5 separate regions of the Homo sapiens genome follow, and regions 2, 3, 4 and 5 are each linked to region 1. Evidence: promoter capture Hi-C in 16 types of primary human blood cells and fetal thymus (Javierre and others, 2016). All regions are on one chromosome and are shown on one strand. The core of a region is centred on a gene start or on the middle of the fragment in contact, and the rest is flanking DNA. Distances in the headings are between cores, read along the strand shown. Region 1 holds the start of TYMS (thymidylate synthetase). Region 2 overlaps USP14 (ubiquitin specific peptidase 14). Region 3 overlaps USP14 (ubiquitin specific peptidase 14). Region 4 overlaps THOC1 (THO complex subunit 1). Region 5 has its middle 12 kb from the start of THOC1.

Region 1 (6,230 bases), core at 3,731-6,230:
AGTTTCAGACATCCCCTGGGGGTCTTGGAACATATCCCCCGTGGATAAGGGGAAACTACTGTAAAAGTTTGTGTTTTATAGAGTAGTTGTGAGAACTACATTAATCCATAATGTGTGGCTCATGATACTCATTGATAGATGGTAGTAGCAACAATAAAAAATAATATTATCAAGTAACTGATTCATAATTGACTCTCAAAAACGTTAATTTTCTGCTTTCCTTTACCTAAGTTTACCTACATGTTTGAATTTGTAAAGGGAAGGTTTTTCTAGACCAATAATTTTCAAATATTTTTGCTCTCATACTTCCTCAAAGGAAACTGAAAAAGTTGCAACATACTTGCATGTCATTTTTCTATATAAGTTGAAAGAATAGCAAATTGTTATTTTCCCACGCATCGTAAAGATTAGCAGGTCATCCCTCTTTAAAATGTACCAAATGGAATCTAAATATCATCGCAATTTGACCCAGCATCATCCATTTAAACAAATATACAAGTTTTTCTTTAACAATGAGAAATTTTATCTCATTACATTTTCTCCCTAAACTCTTATTTCAATCTACATTCCTAAGAATTTTATCCTAATGTAGTATATTTTTATGCTTAAATATCTTTTGTTGATCAACACAATTTTGATCATTTTTAAATTTTAAAAATTAAGAACATCCTGTGACATCAAATTCTAGGTATGAAATATTTATTCTAGATTGGGTGATCATTATAATTATTTTTTGTACATAATTGATCAAAATAACATAAATATACTACAAATTTCTATGACTACTAAACATATAAAAGTAAAATTTTAAACAAATATATCTCTTAATGAGAAGGAAGAGCTTTTTATACTCCAATAAGTTAACGTATCCACTAATAATTATTATTTCTTCCTAGAACAAGACAGGATTAAGCATCATGACCGTCCCTATTGGGGGATGTTTTTATAGATGCAAGCACTGTGGCACCTACTGGTATAAATGCACCTGCTGATTGGAATGTTCTTTCCCCAGATCTTCCCCTGCTGGTTTCTTCCCAGTATTCAGGTCTCAGCTCAAATGTGACTTCCTCAATGAGGCCTCCTGGTGATCAGATCTAAAGCACCCTCTACACAATCACTGTTTAGTGCTATACCCATTAATTTACTATCATCACACTTGTCACTATCTGCAGATGTCTTGTTTGGTTACTTTTGTAGTGTTTGTCACTGCCAGAATATCAGTTCTATGAAGAAAAGGGCCTTGTCTGTCTTGCTGTTTGTAGACATGAGGAAGGCACCATGATATAAATGTGTGTTAATGAATGAATGAATGAAATTTGTCTGAGAGAACCATTCATTCTAACCAACATTTATGGAGTAACTACTTTGAAAAGAACCATTCTGTCTTTACTATCAAGCCAAGATACTCAAGGAAGGCAGCAGAAGTGGAAGCTCCATGTGGGCAGAGGAGCCTAGTCTTGAGATGTGATTTAGCTGGTATTTGGGTGAAACAAATAAACCAGCCTCAAAATAACACAAGGGGCCGGGTGCAGTGGCTCACGCCTGTATCCCAGCACTTTGGGAGGCTCGAGGCAGGCAGATTACTTCAGGTGAGGAGTTCGAGACCAGCCTGGCTAACATGGTGAACCTCCATCTCTACTAAAAATACAAAAACTAGCTGGGCATGGTGATGGGTGCCTGTAATCCCAGTTACTCGGGAGGCTGAGGCAGGAGAATTGCTTGAGCCTGGGAGGCAGAGGTTGCAGTGAGCTGAGATTCTGCCACTGCACTCCAGCCTGGGTGACAGAGCGAGACTCCGTCGAAAAGAAAAAAAGAAAGAAAGAAAAAAAACACACAAGGATGTGCAACTGATGCAGGGCAGGTGAGCCCAGAATTGGGCTTAGCTCAGGAGGGTTCTTGGTTTTGCTCAGGAAAGAATTTAAGAGCTACCTGGTAGAAGAAAAGCTCTACTGATATGGCAACAGCTCCCTGAGTGCCCCTGTAGAGCAGAGCTACCCTATAGGCAGTGTGCTGACAGCAGTAGCTTAAAGGCAGGTCTGCAGTGATATTTATAACCTACTTTCAATTACATGCAAATTAAGGGGCAGATTATGCAGAAATGTCTAGAAAAAGGGTGGTAACTTCCGGTTGTCGGCTCACTGCCATGGAAAGGGGCAGTAAGCTCTGGATGTTGCCATGACAATCGTAAACTGACATGGCACACTGGTGGGCACGTCTTATGGAAAACTACTTCTGCCCCATCCTTGTTTTGACTACTCCTCAATTTGGTCCCATGTCAGAGCCCTGCCTCCAGAGTCAAGCCCTGTCTACCTCACAATTATTATGTATCAGGTTTTTAAAAAATAACACAAGTAAGGCTGGGCATGGTGGCTCACGCCTTTAATCCCAGCACTTTGGGAGGCCGAGGTGGGCAGATCACTTCAGATCAGAAGTCTGAGACAAGCCTGACCAACATGGTGAAACCCTGTCTCTCCTAAAAATGCAAAAAAAAAAAAAAAGAAAAAAAAATTAGCTGGGCATGGTGGCAGGCGCCTATAGTTCCAGCTACTTGGGAGGCTGAGGCAGAATTGCTTGAACCCATGCAGCGGAGTTTGCAGTGAGCTGAGCACCACTGCACTGCAGCCTGAGGGACAGAGCAAGATTCCACCTCAAAAAAAAAAAAAAAAAAAAAAAAGGAAAAAGAATAACACAAGGAAATTAAACACAGATAACGTGCATCTGGATAATCTGGAATATTTTCAGCCTGGGATCTTCCTCGTGCTCGGAAACGTGTAGGGAAACGTGTAGGGACAGTTTTCAGCTGGTGTGGGGTGGGGGAATGCCAACATATGGTTGGCTTTCCACAGTCCTGCTAAAGCCCTGCAATGTGCAGAACAAACCGGTCCAGCTAAGAAAAGTCCCACCCAAAATGCTGAGAGCACCTCTGTACTCAATCAACCGTTGAGGTAAAAGGATGCTTGCAAGTACAACACATGTATCAGTGCATTTTAAACTCATTATAAAATCGTTCTGTAAACCAAAAATAAAATTCTACGCCCAGAACCATCTGAAAAGACCACTCCTCTGGGTCAAAGGCATTCCAAATTTAACCACAAAAACTAGTTCAGGCCATGATGGGAAGGGGAGCCAGACATGCCTCATTATTCCCTCCTCCGTTTGGAATTTAGGCACAGCTGACCAGCATTGACATCAACACAGGCCTCAAGACAGGTAGAACACACTCTTTAAGTCTGACAAGAAACATTTACAATCTATCTCTCTAAAGCCTGCTACCTGGAGGTTTAATCTGCATGATGAATCCATGGTCTCCACAACCCCTTATCTTAACCCAGATATTCCTTTCTATTCATTCAAATCTTTTTTTTTTTTTTCCCCATACGGCTCTGTCACCCAGACTGGAGTGCAGTGGCGCTTTCTCAGCTACTGCAAGCAACCTCCGCCTCCTGGGTTCAAGCGATTCTCCTACCTCAGCCTCCTGAGTACCTGGGGTTACAGGCGTGTGCCACCTCGCCCCACTAATTTTTGTATTTTCAGTAGAGAGGGTTTCACTATGTTGGCCAGGATGGTCTCAATCTCCTGACCTCGTGATCTGCCCGCCTCGACCTCCCAAGTGCTGGGATTACAGGCGTGAGCCACCGCGCCCAGCCCTCTATTGATTCCAGATCTTTAGATAACAATTCTTTCAACCAAATGTATAAAAAATCAAGTTGTAGCCCAACCACCTTGGGGACATGTTCTCAGGATCTGCTGAGGGCTCTATCACCGGCCATTGGTCACTCATATTTGGCTCAGAATAAATTTCTTCAGATATTTTACAGAGTTTAACTCTTTTCATCAACAGTTCCCACTCCCCAGTGTTAATGTTATAAACAATTCAGTAAAACTGGGAAATGTGGTCTATTAAAAACTTGGGGCCGAGTGCGGTGGCTCACGCCTGTAATCCCAGCACTTTGGGAGGCCAATGTGGGTGGATCACCTGAGGTCAGGAGTTTGAGACCAGCCTGGCTAACATGGCGAAACCCCGTCTCTACTAAACATGAAAAAAAAAAATTAGCCGGGCGTGGTGGCGGCGCCTGTAGTCCCAGCTACGCGAGAGGCTGAGGCAGCAGAATTGCTTGAACCCAGGAGGCGGAGGTTGCAGTGAGCCGAGATCGCACCATTGCACTCCAGCCTGGGTGAGAGAGCGAGACTCTGTCTCAAAAAAAAAAAAAAAAGACCGCCAGGGCTCAAACAAAAAACCTCGGAAAAGCCCTGGCGGTCTTTTTTTTTTTTTTTTTTTTTTTTTTGGGACAGTCTTGCTCTGTCGCCCAGGCTGGAGTACAATGGTCGGATCTTGGCTCACTGCAACCTCTGCCTCCCAGGTTCAAGCAATTCTTCTGCCTCAGCCTCCCAAGTAGCCACCACGCCCAGCTAATTTTTGTACTTTTAGTAGAGACGGGGGTTTCACCATGTTGTCCAGGCTGGTCTTGAACTCCTGACCTCAGGTGATCCACCCGCCTCGGCCCCCCAAAGTACTAGGATTACAGGCGTGAGCCACCGCGTCCAGCGCCCTGGCGGTTTTTAATCAAGTAGAAAAGCTGCATTATACCACTTGCTTCGGTTGCTTCAGTGAGAACGAAGAAATGGAAATGCAAATCCCTTATTAGTTGTAGGAAACAGATCTCAAACAGCAGTTTTGTTGACAAGACCGCAGGAAAACGTGGGAACTGTGCTGCTGGCTTAGAGAAGGCGCGGTCGACCAGACGGTTCCCAAAGGGCGCAGTCCTTCCCAGCCACCGCACCTGCATCCAGGTTCCCGGGTTTCCTAAGACTCTCAGCTGTGGCCCTGGGCTCCGTTCTGTGCCACACCCGTGGCTCCTGCGTTTCCCCCTGGCGCACGCTCTCTAGAGCGGGGGCCGCCGCGACCCCGCCGAGCAGGAAGAGGCGGAGCGCGGGACGGCCGCGGGAAAAGGCGCGCGGAAGGGGTCCTGCCACCGCGCCACTTGGCCTGCCTCCGTCCCGCCGCGCCACTTGGCCTGCCTCCGTCCCGCCGCGCCACTTCGCCTGCCTCCGTCCCCCGCCCGCCGCGCCATGCCTGTGGCCGGCTCGGAGCTGCCGCGCCGGCCCTTGCCCCCCGCCGCACAGGAGCGGGACGCCGAGCCGCGTCCGCCGCACGGGGAGCTGCAGTACCTGGGGCAGATCCAACACATCCTCCGCTGCGGCGTCAGGAAGGACGACCGCACGGGCACCGGCACCCTGTCGGTATTCGGCATGCAGGCGCGCTACAGCCTGAGAGGTGACGCCGCGGGCCCCTGCGGGACGGGTGGCGGGAAGGAGGGAGGCGCGGCTGGGGAGAGCGCTCGGGAGCTGCCGGGCGCTGCGGACCCCGTTTAGTCCTAACCTCAATCCTGCGAGGGAGGGGACGCATCGTCCTCCTCGCCTTACAGACGCCGAAACGGAGGGTCCCATTAGGGACGTGACTGGCGCGGGCAACACACACAGCAGCGACAGCCGGGAGGTAAGCCGCGTCCCAGCGGCTCCGCGGCCGGGCTCGCAGTCGCCCCAGTGATGCCGTGGCCCCCGAGGCGGGCGTCATCGGGCAGCGTTTGCCCAGTGCTGGAGGGTTAGGGAGAGCTGCCTGGGCTTGACCGCGCGCCGGTCTCAAAGTCCTGGCTTTGGCCCCTCCTCCGTTTTCCCCTGTGGACCATTCCGCTTCGCAGCGTTTTCAAAAACTGGAGCGAAAGTGATGTGGGCGGGGCAAAGGCGGCGGGAAGAGGAGAGCACTGAAGCTGGCGCGGGAACTTGGTTTCCTGGTGGCCTCCCATCCAATCCCCACGAACCAGCTTTCCTCTTAAACCTTGAAAAGAGAAATTCGGGAGTTCGAGTATAAGTTCTTAGTCGTCCTTTCCTCTTTCCTTTCCGACAGGAGCACCCCAGGCAAAAAATGTCTCGCGGGTCATTGGCGCCAGGCTTTCAGGGGACAGTGGGGCGGGGCGGGGTGGGCACAGGACGTTAGGCAGCCGTTGGCCCTCCCTAAGGCCACACCGTCCTGCCGTCCTGGATCCTGCGCCAGCTGCGCGGGGGAGGGGACTCGAAGGTGTGTGAGCCAGGGGCTGACCTTGACCGCTCAGATAAATGGAGCGCAGCCTTGACACAGGGGTGGAGGTGGTTTTGAATGGGGAAACCCATTCGTGGTGAAGCAGATTCACTGTAGCTAGCGGAAAAGCCCTCCGGCCCACGGACCCATCTAG
Region 2 (6,230 bases), core at 1,086-3,585, 490 kb before region 1:
TTTTATCTCAGTTTAAAAATGTGGAACAATACAGATAGGTTTGTTTTCTTAAAAAAACTACTACAGAATGTAATTTTGTACATGCATTTGTATGTTGAAATTCAAAGCACTTCAGCATTTTTACCAAAGCCCTGGTTCTGGAAAACTGTTCATTTTTTTTTTTTGGCCTTTATTGCATCCTACCCATTAACGAAGAGCTGTTTTTCTTTTTCTTTTTTTTTGAGACGAGTCTTGCCCTGTTGCCCATGCTGGAGTGCAGTGGTGCTATCTTGGCTCACTGCAACCTCCGCCTCCTGGGTTCAAGCGATTCTTATGCCTCAGCCTCCTGAGTAGCTGGGATTACAGGTGTCTACCACCATGCCCGGCTAATTTTTGTATTTTTAGTAGAGATGGGGTTTCACCATGTTGGCCAGTTTGGTCTTGAACTCCTGACCTCAAGTGATCTGCCCACCTTGGCCTCCCAGAGAGCTGGGATTACAGGCGTGAGCCACTGCACCCAGCCCCCTTTTTTCTAAACAGTAATTGTTACCTAACTCCTACCTGGAGATGGGAGGAAAAAATTTTTGTTTAAAAAGAGAAGAAACCTAATTTTTGTCTTTACTTCCTTTGGAATGATCTCAGTGACCACAGTTAAGAATCCATCCCTGCCAGCATCATTGATGAAGGACTGCAGAAAAGACAAGAAGATATCTATTATTATTATTATTTTTTTTGGGATTGAGTCTCCCTCTGTCACTCAGGGGCTGGAGTGCAGTGGCGCCATCTCGGCTAACTGCAACCACCGCCTCCCGGGCTCAAGTGACTGTCCTGCCTCAGTCTCCCGAATAGCTGGGATAACAGGTCACCACCACCATGCGTGACAAATGTTTGTATTTTTGGTAGAGACAGTGTTTCACCATGTTGGCGCTGGTCTCGAACTCCTGACCTCAAGTGATATGCCTGCCTCGGGCCTCCCAAAGTGCTGGGATTACAGGCGTGAGCCACCACACCCGGCCTCTATTATTTTTAATAATATAAGTATAGCTTTAAAAAATACTTCCTTCAAGGGTTAGATAAAATGCTAAAGATCTATAGTTAACTTTAGAGATAAAGACAGGCTACCCCCACTGGGCAGTAAAACACACGTTGGAGGAAAATCTTTGTTTACCCCCGAAGGTACAGTATGAACCTTTGGCCTTTAGTGAACTTCATAGCCTAATCTATGCTGAACACTGTACTAGTGGTATGCTGTCGAGAATTATAGAAGTATGCGAATTAAATGAAACTGTGACTGCTAATGGTTACCATTTATTGAGTACTTATTTTATGTCAGGCTTTTATTATATTTTCTTTAATTCTCAGCTGTATGTTATCCATATCTTATATATGAGGAAATTTTATAAATGAGTGTCAAAGAGGTTTAAGTAACATAGTAAGGCACCAAAAGAGCATATGATTTATACATCAAGCAGATCTGTGTTCACTTCCCAGTTTTGTGTGACCTTGGGTAAGTGATCTTAGGGGGCATTTATAGTTATCATTCATTATGTTTAGCAGTCATAGACCTTAAATTGAGAAGGGCCTTTAGGAAGTTACCGTTCCATTTTAAAGCAGATAAAAGAGATAATTAGTGGCACCAATGAAGGGTAGACAAGCATATTGGGTACCCGATACCTTCTATAAAAGGGAGTAATATAGAATCGACTTTATCCTATGAGGGGAAAGGCCTAGCTGTAGTTAGTAAAAATATTACTCTGGACTAATCATGCATTTAAAAAAAAAATTCTTGATTTTTATTCAACATATTGAAAGGAAAGTATATACTTGCTTTATAGATGCGTTATAGACATTAACTCTTCATTCTTGCCACGTAAGCTTGTTATTTATTAGCTCTGCTGGTTCCAAACATCCAAAAAATAGGATCTATCATTTGTCATTAGTCAAGTGTTTTTTAGTACTTGCTAAAAGTATTTTTTTATACTTATGTGTTTTTTAGTATTTGATGCTGTAAATACAGGTTACTGCCTTTTGTATTGTGTTACCTTATGCAGTTGAAGCAAATTATTTGAAACCCTGGCTTTAGTACCACTTGTGTTTAAAAAAAATTTTTGTTTTTTTTTGAGATGGAGCCTTGTTCTGTTGCCCAGGCTGGAGTGCAGTGGTGAGATCTCGGCTCACTGTAACCTCTGCCTCCTGGGTTCAAGCAATTATCTTGTCTCAGCCTCCCGAGTAGCTGGAATTACAGGTGTGCACCACCATGCTCAGCTACTTTTTGTATTTTTAGTAGAGATGGAGTTTCTTTATATTGGTCCGGCTGGTTTCGAACTCCTGACCGCAGGTGATTTGCCTGCCTCAGCCTCCCAAAGTGCTGGGATTACAGGCGTGAGCCACTGTGCCTGGCCAAAAAAAATTTTTTTAATTGCCATAATTTTAAATAAAATCTGCATATAGGATAAATTTTATTCTGTTTTGAAGTACATTAAAATAAATTGATTATTAGATTGTGTTCAGCTTGTACAGTGGTGGTTAAATGTCTTTTGTTTGTCTTTGAAACAGGATGATGATTGGGGAAACATCAAAATAAAAAATGTAAGTATTATCTTATGAACGTTTATTATAATGCAGTAACCTCATTATGATACCAAAATACATTCCAGATGACTTTTTTTCATGTGTATATCCAGTTGTTCCAGCACTATCTGTTGAAAATACTTACCTTTTCCCATTGACTTGTGTTGGGCTCTTTCTTGAAAAGTAGTTATAGGTTTGTTTTTGGGTTTTTGTTTCATTGATCTAGTAGATTAAAGTTACACTAGTACCAAATGGTTTTGATTACTAAAGCTTTATAATAAAAGCCTTGAAAAAAAAATTAGCTGGGTGTGGTGGTGCACGCCTGTAATCCTAGCTACTCGGGAGGCTGAGGTGGGAGGCTGAGGCGGGAGGCAGAGGCAGGAGGCAGGAGAATCACTTGAACCTGGGAGGCGGAGATTGCAGTGAGCCGAGATCGTGCCACTGCACTCCAGCCTGGCAACAGAGCGAGACTCCGTCTCCAAAAAAAGAGTCTTGAAATAAGATAGTATATGTTCTTATGCTCTCCAACTTTCTCCTCTTTGAGATTTTGTTTGAGATTACATTGAATCTGTAGCTCAATTTGGGGAGAATAAACATCTTAACAATATTGAGTATTAAAATCCCTGAATATGATGTACTTCCTTATTTATTTAGGTCTCTGTTTTTCTCTTAGCAGAGTTGTAGTTTTTAAACATAGAGGTTTTGCATGAGTGGTTTTTTTTTTGAGACAGGGTCTCACTCTCACGTATGCCGGAGCACAGTGGCATGGTCATGGCTCGCTGCAGCTTTAAACTCCCAGCCTCAAGCAGTCCTTCCATCTCAGCCTTCCAAGTAGCTGGGACCACAGGCGGGTGTTACCATGCCCAGTTAATTAATTAATTTTAATTATTTTTTGTAGAGATGGGGGTGTCACTATGTTGCCCAGGCTGGTCTTGAACTCCAGGGCTCAAGCGATCCTCCTGCCTTGGCCTCCCAAAGTGCTGGGATTAACAGGTGTGAGTCACTGTGCCCAGCCCTTGCATGACTTCTCTTAAATTATTGGAACTTAACATTTGTTCGCTGCTTAAAATAATATTAAAAAATATTTCCAGTGTTCATGGCTAGAATGTAAAAATACAATTGATTTTTCTCTCTTTTTTTTTTTTTTTTTTTTGAGACAGAGTCTCACTCTTATTGCCCAGGCTAGAGTGCAATGGCGCGATCTCGGCTCGCTGCAACCTCTGCCTCCCGGGTTAAAGCAATTCTCTTGCCTGAGCTGGGATTACAGGCGCCCACCACCACGCCCAGCTAACTTTTGTATTTTTAGTAGAGATGGGGTTTCTCCATGTTGGTCAGGCTGGTCTCGAACTCCCGACCTCAGGTGATCCGCCCACCTTGGCCTCCCAGAGTGCTAGGATTACAGGCGTGAGCCACCGCACCCGGCCAAAATACAGTTGATTTTTCTAAGTTTATTTTCATTCTTTATTCTTGTAAGCAATTCACTTACTAATTCCAGTTGTGTTTTGGGCAGATTCCATTGGGTTTTCTGTGTACATAAACGTGTTATCTGCAAATAATGACAATTTTACTTCTCCCTTTTCAATATTCGTGACTTTCAGATTTCTTAAACTTTATTGACATATAATTGATAAGCAAATGACTTCTTTTTTTTGAGACAGAGTCTTGCTTTGTCGCCCAGGCTGGAGTGTGGTGGTGTGATCTTGGCTCACTGCATTATTTGCCTCCTGGGTTCATGTGATTCTCCTGCCTCAACCTCCTGAGTAGTTGGGATTACAAACGCCTACCACCATGCCTGGCTAATTTTTGTATTTTTGGTAGAGACAGGGTTTCGCAACGTTGGCCAGGCTGGTCTCGAACTCCTGACCTCAAGTGATCTGCCTGCCTTGATCTCCCAAAGTGCTGGAATTACAGGCGTGAGCCACTGTGCCAGGCCTTGTCCTACTTTTTAATAGGACTTCTAATACAGTGTTAATAGAAAGTGATAAGAGTGGCCGGGCGCGGTGGCTCACGCCTGTAATCCCAGCACTTTGGGAGGCCGAGGCGGGTGGATCACGAAGTCGGAGATCGAGACCATCCTGGCTAACATGGTGAAACTCCGTCTCTACTAAAAAAAAAATACAAAACAATTAGCCGTGCATGGTGGCAGGTGCCTGTAGTCCCAGCTACTCAGGAGGCTGAGGCAGGAGAATGGCATGAGCCTGGGAGGCAGAGGTTGCAGTGAGCTGAAATTGTGCCACTGTACTCTAGCCTGGGCAACAGAGCGAGACTCCATCTCAAAAAAAAAAAAGTGATAAGAGTGGACATCTTGGCTGGGTGTGGTGGCTCACACCTGTAATCCCAGCACTTTGGGAGGCCAAGGATGGTGGATCACTTAAGGTCAGGAGTTCGAGACCAGCCTGGCCAACATGGTGAAACCCCGTCTCTATTAAAAATACAAAAATTAGCCGAGTGTCATGGTGCACGCCAAGAGAATTGCTTGACTTTGGGAGGCGGAGGTTGCAGTGAGCTGAGATCACACCACTGCACTCCAACCTGGGCAACAGAGCAAGACTCTACCTCAAAAAAAAAAAAAAAAAAAAAAGAGTGGACATCTTGTCTTATTCTAGTTCACTACAACTTAAAATTATGAAAGACCGTTACATTTTGTTAAGTGTTTTTTCTGTTTGTTAAAATGATGGTGTGATTTTTTTTTCTTTTTTTCTGTTGGTAGTGTGGTTAATCTCATTGATTTTTAACTTAAACCGTGCATTTCTGGGATGTGCAGTTCTCAAATTTCTTGGTTTTGTGACCCTTTTGCCCTCTTAAATATTATGATTGACCCCAGAGTTTCATATAAAGGCACACCTCATTTTATTGTGCTTCACAGATAATTGTGATTTTTATAAGTTGAAGGTTTGTGGCCACCTTGCATCGAGCAAGTTTATAGGCACCATTTTTCCAGCAGCCTATGTTCACTTCATGTCTCTTTGTCACATTTTGGTGATTCTTGCAATATTTGAAACATTTTCATTACTCTCATGTCAAGTATGTTGATCTTTGATGTTACTTTTGTAATTGTTTTGGGGTGTCATGAATCACACCTGTAAGATGGCAAACTTAATCGACAAATGTGTCTTCTGACAGCCTCACCGACCCGCAGTTCCCTCCTCCCTCTTCTCGAGCCTCCCTATTCCCTGAGACAAGACAGTATTGAAATTAGGCCAATTAATAACCCTACAGGCTGAGCGCGGTGGCTCACACCTGTAATCCTAGCACTTTGGGAGGCTGAGGCGGGTGGATTCCTGAGTTCAGGAGTTCAAGATCAGCCTGGCCAATATGGTGAAACCCCATCTCCACTAAATAAAAATAGAAAAATAGCCGGGCGTAGTGGCACATGCCTGTAATCCCAGCTATTCGGGAGGCTGAGGCAGGAGAATTGCTTGAGCCTGGGAGATGGAGGTTGCAGTGAGCTGAGATCATGCCACTGCACTCCAGCCTGGCCAACAGAGCGAGACTCTGTCTCAAAAATAAACAAATAAATAAATAAATAAATAACCCTACAGTGACCTCTAAGTGTTCAAGAGAAAGGAAGAGTTTCATGTCTTTTACTTTCAACAGAAAGCTAGAAATGATTAAGCTTAGTAAAGAAGGCCTGTGTAAAGCCAAGACAGTCCAAAAGCTAGGCATTTTGCAGCAGTTAA
Region 3 (6,230 bases), core at 2,267-4,766, 460 kb before region 1:
TTTAAAAAAATAATTAGCTTGGTAGTGATGCCCAAATTTCAGCCTTCCCTCCAAAAATATTTTTTAAACATTGTGTTCAGTTTTGTTATTCAGGAACATTTTATTGAGCCCCTGCTTTGTGCTAAGATGCTGTATTTGGTGGGTTCAGTCTGTATAATGATGATAGGTGACATTTCACATCTTGGGTATTAATAAAACATACAAGTTGAGATAAGCTAGAGGAAGAGTTTTGCTGTACATGAAGGAGGGCAAGGTATGATCACTAGGAAGTCCGCAGAGGAGAAATGGTTCGAAATCCAAGAGAACAGACTAGTCCATGACTGTGAGATTCATGCTGCTGAGAGGGGTAAGTGGAAAGAAGGTTTTCTGAAGAAGGTAAATTCTTAGTAGTTTTGGTTCTTAGCTGTCCAGTAGAGTCAGCTGTTTAAGGACCCAGATTTAAATCTCCAGGAGTTGAGTAGATGAGAACCAACTATAGGTTTAAAGGGAGGTAAGTTGGGAGAGGTGACCCGCTATCCTGATCTTGGCAGAGTAGCAGAACAATTACATTATGCCTGTTTGTCCCTAAACAGAGGTTATGTGTTCTTTGTACTGAATTAAAACACCCTGCTTTGTTTGGGAAGACAAAGGCTGGCAAGAAGAAAGAGAGAGGGAGGGCTCAGAAGTTGTTTACAGCTAGTGATTGCTTTGTAAGGTCTTCTGGTGAGTTAAGATTTAAAAAGGATTTTTTTTTTTCTTATTGAGAGTCCAACAATTGTCAAAGAGTAGATACACTTAAAAATGTTTAAGCAGCTGGGTGTGGTGGCTCACACCTGTAATCCCAGCACTTTGGGAGGCCGAGGCTGGCGGATCACAAGGTCAGGAGTTCGAGACCAGCCTGGCCAACATGGTGAAACCCTGTCTCTACTAAAAAAAATGCAAAAATTAGCCAGGCATGGTGGCATGCTCCTGTAATCCCAGCTACTCGGGAGGCCCTTCTGTGTTCAAGCAGTTCTCCTGCCTCAGCCTCCCGAATAGCTGGGGTTACAGGCTGAAGTGAGCGGATCATGAGGTCAGGAGTTGGAGACCAGAGCCTGGCCAGCATGGTGAAACCCCATCTCTACTAAAAAAAAAAATACAAAAAATTAGCCGGGAATGGTGGCGTGTGCCTGTAATCCCAGCTACTCTGGAGGCTGAGGCAGGAGAATTGCTTGAACCCAGAAGGCGGAGGTTGCGGTGAGCCGAGATCGCGCCACTGCACTCCAGCCTGGGCAACGGACCAAGACTCCATCTCAAAAAAAAAAAAAATTAAGTAAGTTTTTGTTTGTATTAATTAAAATTAATTTACAGTCGCGTGTATTAAATATGTGACTGTTTTACTAAGGCAATGTTTGCTTTGTCTTTAAGCCCTTAGAGATTTGTTTGATTCCATGGATAAAACTTCTTCCAGTATTCCACCTATTATTCTACTGCAGTTTTTGCACATGGCTTTCCCACAGTTTGCCGAGAAAGGTGAACAAGGACAGTATCTTCAACAGGTAATTAGGGCAAGGTATTTTTCATTCTGTAAATGTAAAACTTAGGTTTCCTACATTTACCGTACTTACTGGAACATAGTTCGAAATATAAACATCAGTCTTCTCTAGTTCATGCCACGGCTGTCTCTTGCCTGGAGCCGCACAGTAGTCTTAACTGATATCTGGCTTCTGCCTTTGCCCCTTTGCAGTTTCTCTACACAGCCCGCAATGTCCTTTTTAAAATGACGATAGGATTATGTTGGCCCCTTGTTCAGTACTCCCTAGTGATTTTCTACCGCAGTCCTAAATCCTCTAGCCCCTGGCTTTCTCTCTGAGTTCATCACTACCACTCTGTCCCTTGCTTGCCTCTCTCCAGCTGCACAGGCTTCCTTAAACCTTTCAAGTGCCCTCTTCCTGCAGGGCCTTTGCTCTTGTTCTTTGGCTGTCAGATAAGTGCAAGACCAGCTCCCTCACCTCCTTCAGGTCTCATGGCTCCAAGGCCAAAGCCTTAGGCTTTCCCTGATGACCTTATTGGAACAGCACACTTCCCTTCCCCTGATCACTTACTGTTTCCATCCTGCTTTTTTTCGCTTCATAACCCTTATCTCTACTTGAATTTTATATATTCACTGCTATTATGCTGAGTATCTAGTACAGTGTTTAGCACAAATTGGAGCTCAGCAGATGTCTGTTGAATGAATAAGCTATTCTAGAATGCTTTATTTTTTGGAAGATCGTATGTCTTATTTGGCTTAATATTTTTAAAGAAGGAAACCACTTTCTTGCCTAGGAGACAGTGATTATTTTGGAAGAACTTTGTAGATCATTCACTGCCAGGATTACTTACTTTGTCTTTTTTTACATTACAGGATGCTAATGAATGTTGGATACAAATGATGCGAGTATTGCAACAGAAATTGGAAGCAATAGAGGATGATTCTGTTAAAGAGGTAATTGAAATATATTTGTGATTATAGACTTTCGTTATACCTTGATTTTTTTTTTTATTTTTTTTCCCCTCAAAGGCTTAAAATAAGTTCCATCTTATAGGTAGATGTGTATTTAAATACTTTAGATGCTCAATCTGTAGTCAGAATTTGGAAGCTTGCATACGACATTTAAATTTAATGTATTATTTATTAAACTTAATTCATTGTTGATTTTTGGTAATGTTTTTTGAAGGATTTTACTGTAAGGGACTACATTTTTAAAAAAATATGTATTACTAAACTGGATTGTGTGGAAGAAAATCTACATTAATATTTATATAAAGTTGGAATTTTTATTTTAATTTTTGCAGACAGACTCCTCATCTGCATCGGCAGCGACACCTTCTAAAAAGAAAAGTTTAATCGATCAGTTCTTCGGTGTTGAGTTTGAAACTACGTATCCTTATGAGCCAAGATATAGACTATACTCATACCTTATTAGAATTGGCATAAATAGCATCATTGGCTGATTGATTGGTGGTGGGTAGAAGAAAAATTCTTCAGAGGTTTTTTTTCTTTGAGACGGAGTTTCGCTCTTGTCGCCCAGGCTGGATTGCAATGGTGTGATCTTGACTCACTGCAACCTCCACCTCCTGGGTTCAAACAGTTCTGCCTCAGCCTCCCAAGTAGCTGGGATTACAGGTGCATGCCACCATACCCAGCTAATTTTTTGTATTTTTAGTAGAGATGGGGTTTCACCCTCTTGGTCAGGCTGGTATTGAACTCCTGACTTTAGTTGATCTACCCACCTTGGCCTCCAGGTGTGAGCCACCGCGCCCAGCCCAGAGGTTTTTATACCTAAAAAAATACAATAATGGAAATTAGGAATTTGGAAAAATATACCTATTGGAGTGATCTTGAAGGATAATGGGATTATTCATTATGTTTTGATTAATATAATTATTTTAAATTTATTTCTTGAAGGATATTTATTATTTTTTCCTAAGAACATCTTTAGCAGAGTCTACCTCATTTTCATTCACCTTATAAAGAATTAATTTCTTATATGTCAAGGTGACTGTTAATAATAACTTTTAAAATAAAAAAAGAATTTTTTAATTTTATAAAAGGGTGTGTATCAACTATACATGAGATTGAACCAGTTAATAAAACATGAATCAGGAAAGTACTGTCTTCTAGGTCATGGTTAGAAAAACTTAGAAACAATTTATGTACCTTTGGGCTTCTAAGACCATTATAAGACCATACTAAATACCAGCTTATAGTTTAGAGTTTATTGCAGTTTATCTTTTAATACACATTTATTACTCATTGTTGTTTCTAGAATTGTTGGTAGCCAAATGAACATTCTTAAGTATGTTGAAATGAATCTTGGGAGACTAAAAGGTTTTAAATGCCAATGAATGATACTATTAATTTTAATGGAATTAGGATAATGTATTATATTCAAGAGTATATAACAAATTGAATACCCGTTGGCATATTCCTTATCTTAGTTTACAAAGCATGAAATGTACAGAATCTGAAGAAGAAGAAGTCACCAAAGGAAAGGAAAATCAACTTCAGCTTAGCTGTTTTATCAATCAGGAAGTCAAGTATCTTTTTACAGGACTTAAATTGGTAAGGACAATCTCAGTCCATCCTTGTTGTTTGTGAATTCCATGTTTGCGAGTAAGCCAAAGTCATTATTCACTGGGCTTTAATGGTCATTTGTAGACATGTGCAGAGCAATACGCATTTTGAGTTGCCCGATACACACAGTCCCATCTGAGGTCAAACAAGTACTTGGCCTTCTTGTTTCAGCTTGGTAAACAAATACCATTTTAGCAGGAATGTTAGAACTGTTGTTTTAAAAAAAAATTTCTGCTTTTTGTTGGTTATTTCACTGTTTAAGATGACCCCCCAAGCACAGGGCTGAGTGCTGTCTAGTGTTTCTAGGTGTGGGAAGGCTGTGATGTGCCTTACTGAGAAAATATACTTGTTAGAGAAGCTTCAGTTGGGCCTGCGTTGCACTGTTGGCTCTGAGTTCAATGTTAATTAATCAACACAATATGTGAAATAAGGTGTCCTTAAACAGAAACACACATAAAACAAGGTTATGTATTGATTGGTTGATGAAAATGTTGTGATCAAAGGCTGGCGGGAATCTAATCCTGTATTTCCCCTAGGAGCAGTGGTTCAGTATTCATTGATTCAGTGCTTGTGGTGACTTTGTAGAACATAATTACCGTGACTAACAAAATCAACTGTATAGTCAGAAATCAAACAAACTTCAACTAGCTCTTCATTTCATAGACAAAAGCATTATTGACATGGTTGCATATGCTAACAAATATTGGGACATCTCACTTTTTAATCACTGGGTGTTCCTGCTTCACACTGTGAAGAAGCACCTAGTGCTTTGTGCTGTACCTTGCTTTATTTTAAAGCACTCAAGAAATGTTTGTTGAATAGTTTACATGTTTGTTAAGATTTTTCCTTAGAGATAGTTGTTTTCATGGGCCCTATAACTTAGCTGAACTGTTAACTTTAAGGAAAATTACTTAATCTAAGCTACTGTTTTCTTACGTGAAAATGAGAGTAACTATAGGGTTGTTTGTGGGTTTGTGCTCTTAACCATTAAGGGTGATCATATAATGTATTGTCTAAACCAGGACACTTTGGTGGAGAGTGAATGAGGGTATGTTAGTAATTATGCAATATAAACTGGGATTTTTCTGTGCAAATCAGGGCATGTAGTCGTTCTGCCATTGCACTGTCTTGCAGTTGAGGCCCTGGAATTTAAAGTAACCTAATTGGCTTTTGGCAGAGCCAGAACTAGAACTTGCTTCTTTCATTATTCAGTTAGTGCTGCTTTTCCAGTGCCATACTAAAGAATACGGACTCACATAAAATGTCAGCTTCCACTCTGCTAATAAGCCCATGGATAAAACATACGGTTTTGCTTGCTGACTTACTAATTTGGTGTGCTTTGGGGATATGTATATCTCTCGAAGGATCTCCCCATTTGAACTGATACCTTTTAATAGTTTTCAAATTATAGTTCATGTGATTCCACTTCAAAAGCACTGATAATTAGGATTGTTTATTTTATTTTATTTTATTTATTTATTTACTTATTTTGAGACGGAGTCTCTCTCTGTCACCCAAGCTGGAGTGCAGTGGCACAATCTCGGCTCACTGCAACCTCTGACTCCCAGGTTCAAGAGATTCTCCTGCCTTAGCCTCCTGAGTAGCTGGGACTACAGGTGCGTGCCACCACACCTGGCTGATTTTTGGTATTTTTGATAGAGACAGGGTTTTGTCATGTTAGCCTGGATGGTCTCAATCTCCTGACCTTGTGATCCGCCCACCTCGGCCTCCCAAAGTGCTGGGATTATAGGAATGAGCCACCGTGCCCAGCCAGGATTATTTATTTTAAAAGTTAGCTTCTTCCTAAACACAGTTGTATGAAAAATAAATGCATGAATAAAAGTTAGCCATTGCAACATCTAGATATTTGAAGAAGGGCCTGGAGGGCAGAATTTTTAAAAATCCTGGTTGATCCTCTTTGCTGTCTCCTCTAACCATGACCAATAAAGAGAAGTCTTGAAGGAAGAAAAGTCAGTGAAAAATGATGAGACATTGGAATAGGTCCTCTGTGCAGAGGCCTAGTTTGGGCAGAGGAGGTGGGTTGATAAACACTGAAGTGGGACATGGATTATGTTGATAAACAAGATGATTTGTTATCTGGGGGCTCTCATCTATAGTTTGGGATAAGGTTGGCAAGGGGAAGGGTTGTTAA
Region 4 (6,230 bases), core at 1,423-3,922, 430 kb before region 1:
GACAGAGTGAGACTCCCTCTCAAAAAAAAAAAAAAAATGAAAACTTCATATTATGATAGAACAATTATCAGATATAAGATAAAAATGCCACATTATATGGCAAATTACACGGAGTAGATATACAGTATTCTTCTCAATAATAAGATGTTTGTTCCAGGAATTTAATGACAAGAAATTTATGAGGTTTAAAAAATACAGAGGTAAATCAAAGTGGTTGTACTCTTACAAAGTTCAACTTACATTTTTTATGTGAAATATATACATGTATTTTTACATGCTATAATCATATCGGAGCACATTTTCAAAAGCCTTTCTCGTCGTTCTTGTGATGAGTATGTATTTACCTTTCTTTCAGTATGTATTTACCTTTCTTTCACAAAACTTGGGCAACCTTCATTTTTCCACGAGTTCCAGTTTTCTTCAGTGTTTAATATATGCTGGGAAAAACAAAGCGATTACATTTTGGTTAGTGGAATCCTCTGAAGTTCTATTTCGTGCTAAGAAGAGGATGTAAGCATAAAAAACACATACCTCTACCATCTTTGAAAATCTTTCTCCATCGGGGGGGTTTTCAGATAGTAGCTGTGATTAGAAAGAATATACTAAGCTTTCAACAACTTTCTGCATCATAGGAGTGGTTTGTAGGCAGAGAACCAAGGAGTGTTTGTGGTCTTGTACCTGAGCTTAACTTTATCCTTATTTTCCTATTTGGGGCTGAAACAAAGAAAATCCTAAATTTCCATTTTTTCAATCATGGGTTTGTTGCGTGTTGAACTTACTTGATAAACTGATTTTGTAGTATCTTCAATCCAAAGTGATTGCTCATCAGTTAAAACATAGTTTGAACTAGGGAACAAAGCAATGAAAGCATGCTTGAGTTACAGCAATGCATATGCAACTTTAAGGTTTAAAAAACACAAGGCATGTAACATGTAACTATACTGTGGATAGTGTCAAAAATTACCAAGACAAGAATAATCACAAATGAGAGGATTATAAGAGAAAATTCTTGCACTTCTTCCTCAAGAGGGTTGGTACTGAAGACATAAAAGCATATGCAGGGAATAAAACATTCAATTAATCAATCAGATTCACTATGAACAGAGCAATATATGTTTCCTAAAATAAGCTGAGTGTGAAACGAAAACTTCTGATTTGATATTAAGATATGTGTATACATGATGCACATTCAGTATGGCATGCTACATTAAGATTCATTCAAAATACAACGAATAAAACACCCAAACCCTAGAAAAGGCAACAGGCAAACCCAAATTGTTAATAGCTGCCACTAACTGAGCTCTCATAATGCACTAGGTGATTTAAAGACATCCAATAAATATTGATGGCTAGGATCTGAACACTTTACATACATTATTCATTGAATTCTCGGAACAAGTACATGTACATATTAAACAGAGACTACCGTGTCTCACTGATTTGCCCAAGGCCATAAAGATTTAATTCAAACCCACGTCTCACTTCAAAGTCCCTCATCTTCCTACTATGCTATACCAAACCTCCAAAATAGATAGAAGGATAAGAAATAACATTTTTTGAGTGTTTACCATGTGCTACTACCTTAAAATTACAAGTCTGAAAGAGCTGCACTGCAGCCAGCAAATGACGAGCCTGGGATTCAAACCCAGCAGGTAGTGAAGTCATTATACAACTAATACGGCATTGCTCAGTGTCCTTAACACAAATACCGTTAAGTAACAGTGGGCTCCACCTTCAGTTATGGACAGGATAGGAGGAAATGGATGGAAGTATTTAGATAGACAGTAGAGAGCCTAATGAGGTTTTGTGAAACCCCAAATAAATGAACTCCTTTTTGCTTAAAAATTTTCTTTGCATCTTTTAGCTTGAATGTCCTGCAGAGCTCCACACCTTGTGAGATATGTATTACTGGCTTAGTCTGCAAATCAGCTTTGGAGGAGGTCTGAGGGAGGTGAGAAGGGAATGACGGAATTTTGGAGCAGAGACCTCCACCTGCTAATAAAGACGACAACTCCTGGCAAGCCCTGGAGTTGGGCAGGAAAAACTCACACTGACAGATATATTTAACATCTTTTCCTTAAATATCCTAATATCGAAAAGCCTTCAATGTATCAGCTGCAATACATGTGTTTTAGGGATACAGCCTTAACATGAAATGGACACATACATAAGAAAAATCGTAAGCAAGTCCTTTTTTTTCTTGGCTACTGTTTACAAATTGTTTACTACCCATATTATCTTACCTTTTGAATTTGACCTGCCCCTTGAGATATTGGAATAAAATGAGATACTGCAACAGGATGTGTCGACGAAAGTTACTGTCACTCAGTTGTAAATCCATCAGCTACTCAAGAAACAAGCAAACACATACGAAAACAACACATTAAAATCAAGTTTTTCCTAAAGGTACAAAATGTGCTAATATAGAAATGGAAGATTCCAATTCAATTTAAAAGCCATTTGTTGAGAGTTCACTGCATGTGAGGCATTACCGCACAAGCCCAAAGACAGCCCAGTCAAGGTTTCACTTAGATTTCTTGACTGTTTTATGCCATGACACATTCTTGCTGGTGGATAACAATGATCTATCTATGGTCCAGACATGAGGATAAAATAAAGCAGAAATAGAAAAAAGTAAGCTGGGCATGGTGGCACAAAGCCTATTATAGTCCCAGCTACTCAGGAAGCTGAGAAGGAGGATCACTTGAGCTCAGGAGTTCGAGATCAGTCTGAGCAACATAGCAAGACTCTAAATTTAAAAAAAAAATTTTTTTTTAAAGTAAAACTGAGGCTACTACTTTCTCACATATGAAGAAATAATGGCTAAAGAAGATACGGATAACAGCACAATATCAACGGGGACCACTCATTTTTGTAGCCCTATAAAGTGCCTGCAACAGAGGTATTACTTGACAATAAACAAGAAATTAGAGGTGAAGATCATCTCTGATTAGATGGGCTTTTTTTTTTAGCTTTTAGTGAAAATTGCATCATACTTGTATTATCACAGAATCTGGATTAGAAAGGACTTGAAGGTCACTCATGAGGAAGTTCTTCAACGACCCTGCCATCCAGCTGTAAGAATAACCTGCGGCGATGAAGGAAGGTCATTCTGATTATGTGCATGGAACACTGAAGGAAGGCTGAAGTCTGTATCCACAAACTCATGCTAGTTCTGCCTTCAAAAACTACAGTAACAAAGGAAAGCCACGTTCTTCTAAATGAATCGCCAGTAAGGCAGCTGGAAGCGTCGAAGATTGGTTTTGGTTCAATGTCCCAAGTGCTGGTGGCTCTGCTTTACGTGGTTGGTACCATTTACTAATGCTACCTAACACGCACAAGCCTCCCTATTCACTAGCAACCCCTTCCACACTGTGGCTCCAGGTCTTAAAAAAAAAAATTAATGATCAGCCTTCCAGTCAGGTTTCCCTCACGTTTAAGGATTGAATATATTTGATTGTTATTTATATTAACTCTCCTATCCCAAATTGGAAATGTGAATGGCCGGCCATCAGCCTTCCCTTCCTCCAGCCCCTGGGCAACTTGACTGTCTCCACTCAGGCTGTTAGTTCCTTGCCCTTAACTCCACGGACAGGCCCATCTCTGCTCCAGCTACCCACTACTGTGGCCACAGCTAGACCTGGGGTCACTCACAGCTGCCCCAGATCTGAAGTCTTCAACTCACAATCCTATCTCACCACAACCTCTATCCTTCCCAGGTCTCTCGCTCAGTTGCTTCCAATATACCTAATATTTGGATCTTACCGAGACTTTAAGGCCCTTGACCCGTCTATTCTCTGCCTGTTAGTCCCATCCCATTTTATTATAATCCTATTTTAGTCTAGATAAGGGGTCAGCAAACTTTTTCCTGAAGTGTCAAATAGTAAGTATTTTTATTAATAGGTTATGTGGGCTAAGAGACATATTATGGATATTATGTAGGTATTTAAACATCTAAAATGTAAGGGGGAAAAAAAAACCAAAATCACCAAAAACAACCAACACAGGTGGTGGGCCAGATTTGGCCTATAGGCTATAGTCTGCCAACTCCTGGTCTAGACTTCATGGTTAATCTCTTCGGCCATTTTCTTGCCAACTTCAACACACTTGTCCCATATTTCTTCTGTCATGTCTAGTGAGCAAACAGCAACCTTGAATAAACCAACTGTTAGTCACCTTCTCTATACCAACCCTCAGGATTCCAATCTCAGCTGAAAGTGAGGTGCCTGAGTGAATACCCCAAATTACACAGCTATGCAGAAGGCACCACTGGTATGTTGTCACCACCTTAAACATCTGTTTTTAATCAGCAATCTTTCTTTATTCTTCAAGGCCATTCTCTCTCCTACTCTTCACAGTAATGATTTTCAACCCTTTCCACTTAGCAAAAATACTACTTTACCACCCCTTCTCACTTTCAGTAGATAACTACTTTTGCCTTCAATGAGAAGAAAAATTAAATTGGAAAGCATTTCATTTCTTGGCCCCCAAAATGACAAATCAGCTGCACCTACACCTTTGTTTACTTCATTTCCTTCTGTCACAACTCCTTCACGGCTAAAGGTATTCCATCTGGATTACCTTCCATCTGGAATCCCAATATCCCTAACAATTGAGTTCCATCAACTAACTGCCCTGGTTTCTGTATCTACAACCTATTCTTTCCAAGCTCCTTTCCATAAGCATTAAATAAGCTCCCTCAAAAATCTCCCACATTCTCACCTAACCCTTTAACAGCAAAGCTTCTTAAAATAATTGACTATAGGCACTGTTGCCAATCAGCTCCTCAACCTGCTATCATCTGACCGCCTCATCCACTAATCCATTGAAAGTGTTTTTGTCGGCTGGGTGTGGTGGTTCACGCCTGTAATCCCAGCACTTTGGGAGGCTGAGGCGGGCGGATCACAAGATCAGGAGTTCGAGACCAGCCTGGCCAACATGGTGAAACCCCGTCTCTATTTAAAAAAAAAAAAAATTAGCGGGGCGTGGTGGTGCATGCCCTGTAATTCCAGCTACTCTGGAGGCTGAGGCAGGAGAATAGCTTAAACCTGGGAGGCGGAGGTTGCAATGAGTCCAGACCATGCCACTGCACTCCAGCCTGGGCAGCAGAGCAACAATCGGTCTTGGGGCGGGGGAAGAAAGTGTTTTGTCAAGATCACCAATGACTTATTTGTTGTTAAATCCTGTGAACACTCTTTACTGTCCTCATCCTACTTGATATGCTTGGCTTCCATGAGTGCATGCTTTTCTAGTTTTTCTCTAATCTCACAGGTTACTCTTCAATCTTCTCCTCTTCTCCCTTCATTCTCCCTTAAACATGGGTTTTCTTCGGGATTTCAGTATTTTCTTCTCTTCTGAATCTACACTCTCCCCTTTAGCTCATTTCATACACTCTACAGTTTGAATTACCATTTATAAACTGGTAACTCCTACAACTATACTCTCAACCTAGATCTTGTTCCTAGTCTCCAGCTTTGTACACTAGACAACCTATCACACATCTCTACCTGAATGTTCAACTGACACCTGATCAGATTTCATGAACAAAGTAAAACATCAATTTCCTCCACAAAAGCTGTTCTCCAGCATTGGCTAATTCAATGAGAGGCTCCAACATCCATTTGCCCAAGCAACTCTAGGAAGGCTTCCTGGAGAAAGCAGCATCTAAACTCTCAACAAGGAACAAACCTAAAGGTGGAGAGTGGGGGTTGGGGGATGGGGGTGCAAGAAGGGGAGCCAAATAAGAGACTGGCCTATTTGAAGGACCGAAGTACACAGTTCAATACATCTGGAGTAGAGATGTGAACCCCTAGCTTAAAGAGACGAACCAAAGTGGCTAGGTGATGCTTACTAGCTGTTCATTTTATTTTTTTATGTTGAAAGATTTTCCTTGATAGAAACAATGGATTGAAAATAGGAGTCAACAAAACACTGAATCAGGGGTGGAAAGGACCTAATGTGATTCAAGCTAACTGCTTCACATTATACTTAAGGAAACTAGGTCCAGAAAAGTTAAAACTACCTAGGCAAGATTACACAGCTAGTTAGTGACACAGCTGAGAGTAAAACTAATACACTCAATTGTACCCTTTCTTTCATAATATCTACTATCTAGTTCCATTTTTCTTTGGTTATTTAAAAAATTATATCATTTACACTATGTCATGGGTCAAACATTTCATTATTATTATTTTTAGCGACAGGGTCTCACTCTGCTTCTCAGGCTGGAG
Region 5 (6,230 bases), core at 1,549-4,048, 380 kb before region 1:
ATCTAGAAAAATCAACTATTTGGGAATTAAGCAACAAAATCCTGAAAGAGCATAGGTCAAAGAAGAAATCACCAGGGAATTTAGAAAATATTGTATACTGATGGTAATGATAATGATAACTTACCAATATGACTGGGTGCAGTGGCTCACGCCTGTAATCCTAGCACTTTGGGAAACTGAGGCAGGCAGATCACTTGGGCCCAGGAGTTCAAGACCAGCCTGGGCCGCACGGTGAAATCCCGTCTCTACCAAAAATACAAAAATTAGCTGGGCGTGATGGCATGAGACTGTAATCTCAGCTACTTGGAAGGCTGAGGTGGGACGATGATTTTATTCTGGGAGTTGAAGGTTGCAGTGAGCCAAGATCATGCCGTTGCACTCCAGCCTGGGTAACAGAGCCAGACCCTGTCTCAAAACATCAAAAACCAAACAAACAAACCCAGAAACTTAGTAGTATTTGTGGATGCAGCTAGAGCAATGACTGAGCAAAATCTATAGCTTTACCATATTTTATTTTGTAGTATAATTTGTATACCTTGGATGCATATATTAGAAGAAAGGTTAAAATCAATTTAGTAAATGTCCATCTCAAGAAGTGAGCAAAAGAAGAGCAAATGAAACCCTAAGAAAGTAGACAAGTAAATAATAAATATAAGGACAACAGAATAGAAAACAAATAATAGACAAAATGAACAAAACCAAAAGTTGGTTTTTTGAAAAGATTAATAAATTAACCTTTAGCAATATAATCAAGAATAAAATAGAGGAGCAAAATTATCAATATCAGAAATGAAAAAGGGACATTGTTACAGATCCTACAGGCATTAAAAAGATAATATGATATGCCAGGAATGGTGGCTCACACCTGTAATCCCAGTACTTTGAGAGGCTGAGGCAAGAGGATCACTTGAGCTCAGGAGTTTGAGACCATCCTGGGCAACACAGGGAGGCCCTATCTCTACAAAAAAATTAATTAAAAAAATTAGCCAGGCATGGTGGCACACACCTGTTGTCCCAGCTACTTGGGAAGTTGAGTCGGGAGGATTGCTTGAGCCCAGGAGTTGGAGGCTGCAGGGAGCTACAATAGTGCCACTGCACTCCAGAGCAAGACCCTTTCTCAATAATAATAATAATAATAGGTTATTATGAAAAACTTTAGGCCCATAAATTGGAAAATTTAGAAGACAGAAAATTTTTGTAAAACACAAGTTACTAAAACTGACAAAGAAAAAATAGAAAATATGAATAGTCCTATATCTGTTAAAGAAATGCAATTGGTAATCAAAAGCTTTCTCCAGAGCAAACTTTAGGTCTAGATGGCTGCGTTGGTAAATTCTACCATACATTTAAGGAAGAAATGATACCAATCTTACACAAGGTCTTTAGAGAATAAACAGTGAGAAACCATCTACCAACTTGTTTTGTGAACCTAGCATAACTCTGATATCGCAACCTTAAAAGTACATTACAAGAAAATAAAATTACAGATAAATATCCCTTATGAACTTAGGTATAAAAGTCCCAAAAGAAAAAAGGAAGTCCTGGCTGGGCACGGTGGCTTATGCCTGTAATCCCAGCATATTGGGAAGCCAAGGCGGGTGGATCACTTGAGGTCAGGAGTTTGAGACCAGCCTGGCCAACATGGTGAAACTCCATCTCTACTAAAAATACAAAAATTAGCTGGGCGTGGTGGCTTGCACCTGTAATCCCAGCTACTCGGGAGGCAGAAACACAAGAATTGCTTGAACCTAGGAGGCAAAGGTTGCAGTGAGCCAAGATGATGCCCTTGCACTCCAGCCTGGGTGACAGATCAAGACTCTGTCTTAAAAACCTAAAAAAACAGAAATCCAATAAAATTTGAAAAGGATAGTATATCATGACCAAGTAAGGTTTATTCCAGGAATATAGGCTTGATTTAACATCTGGAGTCAGTCTATATCATTCACTGTTATCAGAATAAAGGAGAAAAATATAAATATAAGCATCTTAATAAATGCAGGAAAGGTGATGAAATTCAATGTCTATTCACGATTTTTAAAAACTCAGCCAACTAGAAATAGATGGGAAATTTTCAGTCTGATAAAAGATGTCTTTAAAAATCTTTATCTAACATCATGATAGTGAAATATTAAAATCGTTGCCCCTAAAAAGCCTAGAACAAGATGATGTCCACGTTCACCCAGTTTTATTCAACATTATAATGAAGGTCTTAGCCATTGAATTAAGATTTTAAAAGGCAACAAAAGGCACAGGATTGAAAAGGCACAAGTACAGCATCTTTATTTGCAGATGACATGATTATTTACATAGAAAATTAAAAGATAATAAAGGTATATAGGCCGGGTGCAGTGACTCTCACCTGTAATCCCAGCACTTTGAGGGACCGAGGTGGGAGGATCTTGAGGTCAGGAGATCAAGACCATCCTGGCCAACATGGTGAAACCCTGTCTCTACTAAAAACATAAAAATTAGCTGGGCATGGGGGGCGCATGTCTGTAATCCCAGCTACTCGGGAGGCTGAGGCAGGAGAATCGCTTGAACCCGGGAGGTGGAGGTTGCAGTGAGCCAAGATCGTGCCACTGCACTCCAGTCTGGTGACAGAGACTCTGTCTCAAAAAAAATAATAATAAAGATATATAACTCAGTATGAATAAGTTAATATAGCAAGATTATAAAATAAGATCAATCTATATTTTTATTTCTACATAGTAATTCTAAAAATTTGGAAAATAATATTAAAAATCACACTGTTTACCATTGTATAAACCTCAAGTACCTAATAATGAATTTCCTAAAAGATGTACAAGAATTTTAAATTATTGCTGAGATAAAGAAGATAAAATATTTCTTCTTTATAGGAGAAATTTCAAGCCTGGTGAGACACACTGTCTTAATGGTTTGTCTTTGAACAGACAAATCATCTTAATGGTTTTGAAGATTAAATATTATAAACATATCAATTCTCCCCAAATTGGTCATAGATTCAACACACTCTTAGTAAAACTCCCAGCATACTTTTTGTAACAATTGAGTAGCGCGATTCTAAAATTTACACAGACATGCAAAGGAATTTTAATAGCTAAAATAATCTCGAAGAATAATAGAGGAATTACACTACCAGATTTTGAGACTTTATAAAGCTACTGTAATTAAGGTAATGAAATAGTGTCATAAGGGCAGAAAAGTAGACCAAAGGAACAGAACAGAGTATGCAAAAACAGATGCAGACTGTTGGTTATTTGGTTTTTGACAAAAGTGAAAATAGAATCCAATATAGAAAATGAAGATCTATGTAATACAGGCATGCCTTGTTTTACTGTGTTTTGCTTTATTGCGATATTGTATTTTTGTTGTTGTTGTGGGTTTTTTTTTTTTTTTGGTGGGGGTGTTTGAGACAGGGTCTCACTTTGTCACCCAGGCTGGAGTGCAGTGGCACAGTCACAGCTCACTGCAGAGTCAACCTCCCAAAGGCTCAGGTGATCCTCCTACTTCAACTTCCCGAGTAGCTGAAGTTCATGCCACCACATCCACCTAATTTTTGTATTTTTTGTAGAGATGGGGTTTCACCATGGTGACCAGGGTGGTCTTGAACTCCTGGGCTCAAGCAATCCTCCCACCCTGGCCTCCCAAAGTGCTGTGAATACAGGCATGAACCACTGCATCTGGCCTGTTTCTTTTGTTTGTTTGTTTTTTCTGCAAGTTGACTGTTCATGGCAACTCTGTGTTGAGCAAGTCCATTGGTACCATTTTCCCAACATCATGTGCTCACTTTGTGTCTCTGTGTCACATTTTTGTAATTCTCTCTATATTTCAAACTTTTTGGTATTATATCTGTTATAGTGATCTGTGATTAGGGATCCTTGACGTTGCTATTATAATTGTTTTGGGGTGTCATGAATTGCACCCATATAAGACAGCGAACTTAATCAGCAAAAGTTGTGTGTCTTCGGACTGCTCCATTGACTGCTGCACCTACTGCCGTTTCCTTGTCTCTGTTCATCTCCTTGGGCCTCCCTATTCCCTGAGACAAGACAATATTGAAAGGAAGCTAATAACCCTGTAATGACCTCTACATGTTCAAGTGAAAGGAAGAGTTGCACATCTCTTACTTTAGATATATTTTTTGAAATAGGGTCTCACTCTGTTGCCCAGGGTGGAGTAACAGTGGCATAATCATAGTTCACTTCAGCCTGAACTCCTGGCCTCAAGTGATTCTCCTGCCTCAGTCTCCCAAAGCGCTGGCATTACAGGTGTGAGCCACCAAGCTGGGTCGGATGTCCTCACTTTAAATCAAAAGCAAGGAATGATTAAGCTTAGTGAGGAAGGCATGTCAAAAGCTGAAACAGGCCACAAGCTATGTCTCTTGTGCTAAACAGCCAAGTTGTGAATGCAAAGGAAAAGTTCTTTTTTTTCTTTCTTTCTTTTAAAATTTTTGCTTTTTTTTTTTTTCAGACAGGGTCTCACTCTGTCACTCAGGGTAGAATACAATGGCATGATCATGGCTCACTACAGCCTCGACCTCCCAGGCTCAAGCCATCCTCCTACCTCCGCCTCCTAAGAAACTGGGACCACAGGTGCACCCTACCATGCCTGGCTAATTCTTAAATTGTTTGCAGAGATTGGGTCCCACTATGTTGCACAGGCTGGTGAAAGTTCTTGAAGGAAGTTAAAAGTGCTACTCTAGTAAACACATGAATGATAAGAAAGTGAAACAGACTTATTGCTGATATGGAGAAAGTTGGAGTGGTCTGGATTGAATATCAAACTCTCCGCAACATTCCCTTAAGCCAAAGCCTAATATGTAATAAGGCCCTAATGCTCTTCAATTCTATGAAAGCTGAGAGAAGTAAGGAAGCTGCAGAAGAAAAGTTTGAAGCTAGTAGAGGTTGGTTCATAAGATTTAAGAAAAGAAGCCATCTCCATACCATAAAAATGCAAAGTGAAGCAGAAAGTGCTGATGGAAGTTACAGCAAGTTATCCAGAAGATCTAGCTAAGATCATTGATGAAGGAGACAAGACAGCCTGATATTTGGAAAAGATGCCGTCTAGGACTTTCACAGCCAGAGAGATATCAATGCTTGGCTTCAAAGGACAGGCTGACTCTCTTGGTAGGGGCTAATGCGGCTGGTGACTTTAAGATGAAGCCAATGCTCATTTACCACTCTGAGAATCTTAGAGCCTTTAAGAATTATGTGAGTCTACTCTGTCTTTGCCTGGATGACAGCACATCTGTTCGCAGCATGGTTTACTGAACATTTTAAGCTCATTGTTGAGATGTACTGCTCAGAAAAAAGATTTCTTTAAAATATTACTGTGCATTGACAATGCACCTAGTTGCCCCAGAGCTCTGATGAAGATATACAAGTTGATTAAAATGTTTTTATGTTAACACAACATTCATTTTGCAGCCCATGGATCAAGGAGTAATTTCCAAGTCTTATTATTTAAGAATTACATTTTGTGAAAAAAATTACATTTAGTAAGGTTATAGCTGCTATAGATAGTGATTCCTCAATGAATCTGGGCAGAGTAAATAAAACACCTTCTGGAAAGAATTTCCTATTCTAGATACCATTTGGAACATTTGTGCACCAGACACAGAGGCTCACACCTGTAATCCCAGCACTTTGGGAGGCTGAGGCGGAAGGACACTTGAGCCCAGTAGTTCAAGACCAACCTGGGCAACATAGTGGGACTCCCATCGCTACAAAAACAAAAATAAAAAAATTTTAGCCAGGTGCAGTGGCTCACGCCTGTAATACCAGCACTTTGGGAGGCTGAGGCGGGTGGATCACCTGAGGTTGGGAGTTCAAGACCAGCCTGACTAACATGGAGAAACCCCGTCTCTACTAAAAATACAAAATTAGCCGGAGTGGTGGCGCATGCCTGTAATCCCAGCTACTCGGGAGGCTGAGGCAAGAGAATCACTTGAACCCAGGAGGTGGAGGTTGCAGTGAGCCGAGATCACGCCATTGCACTCCAGCCTGAGCAACAAGAGCGAAACTCCATCTCAAAAAAAAAAAAAAAATTAAAAAGAATATTTGTGATTCACTGGAGGAGGTCAAAATATCAACATTAATAGGAATTTGGAAGAATTAGATCCCAACCCTCATGGATGACTTTGAGGGGTTAAGACTTCAGTGGAGGAAGTCATTGCAGATGTGGTAGAAATAGCAAGAGAACTAGAATTAGAAGAGGATCCTGAAGATATGACTGAATTGCTGCAATTT

Evidence for each region. The method cuts DNA at HindIII sites, captures the fragments that hold promoters and counts their contacts. A CHiCAGO score of 5 or more calls a contact.
Region 2: a contact is called between a fragment that was not itself captured here and the fragment with the promoter of TYMS in region 1, in 1 of 17 cell types (M1 macrophages). The highest score is 5.1, in M1 macrophages.
Region 3: a fragment that was not itself captured here is called in contact with the fragment with the promoter of TYMS in region 1 in 1 of 17 cell types (M1 macrophages); the score reaches 6.6 in M1 macrophages.
Region 4: a fragment that was not itself captured here is called in contact with the fragment with the promoter of TYMS in region 1 in 1 of 17 cell types (M2 macrophages); the score reaches 6.4 in M2 macrophages.
Region 5: a fragment that was not itself captured here is called in contact with the fragment with the promoter of TYMS in region 1 in 3 of 17 cell types (M0 macrophages, M1 macrophages and monocytes); the score reaches 8.9 in M0 macrophages.

The regions. Positions count from the first base shown.
Region 1 is chr18:652,673-658,902 of GRCh38, forward strand. It overlaps TYMS (thymidylate synthetase), which reads left to right and starts at 4,981. Exons shown (of 7, transcript NM_001071.4): 1 at 4,981-5,275. The coding sequence starts at 5,071. TYMSOS (TYMS opposite strand RNA) reads right to left here and starts at 5,619. Exons shown (of 2, transcript NR_171001.1): 1 at 5,170-5,619. RefSeq lists enhancers at 4,705-5,206, 5,207-5,706, 5,574-5,693 and silencers at 4,944-5,123, 5,294-5,343. The HindIII fragment of the contact is 8,200 bases long and covers 1-6,230 here.
Region 2 is chr18:164,252-170,481 of GRCh38, forward strand. It overlaps USP14 (ubiquitin specific peptidase 14), which reads left to right. Exons shown (of 16, transcript NM_005151.4): 3 at 2,536-2,568. Among named protein-coding and RNA genes, the nearest start is that of USP14, 8.8 kb to the left of the region's middle. The HindIII fragment of the contact is 966 bases long and covers 1,853-2,818 here.
Region 3 is chr18:195,251-201,480 of GRCh38, forward strand. USP14 (ubiquitin specific peptidase 14) reads left to right here. Exons shown (of 16, transcript NM_005151.4): 7 at 1,387-1,517; 8 at 2,366-2,446; 9 at 2,797-2,882; 10 at 3,952-4,066. Among named protein-coding and RNA genes, the nearest start is that of USP14, 40 kb to the left of the region's middle. The HindIII fragment of the contact is 1,836 bases long and covers 2,599-4,434 here.
Region 4 is chr18:224,558-230,787 of GRCh38, forward strand. THOC1 (THO complex subunit 1) reads right to left here. Exons shown (of 21, transcript NM_005131.3): 12 at 2,244-2,344; 13 at 780-846; 14 at 532-582; 15 at 367-437. Among named protein-coding and RNA genes, the nearest start is that of THOC1, 40 kb to the right of the region's middle. The HindIII fragment of the contact is 4,135 bases long and covers 606-4,740 here.
Region 5 is chr18:277,282-283,511 of GRCh38, forward strand. No RefSeq gene overlaps it. Among named protein-coding and RNA genes, the nearest start is that of THOC1, 12 kb to the left of the region's middle. The HindIII fragment of the contact is 3,024 bases long and covers 1,287-4,310 here.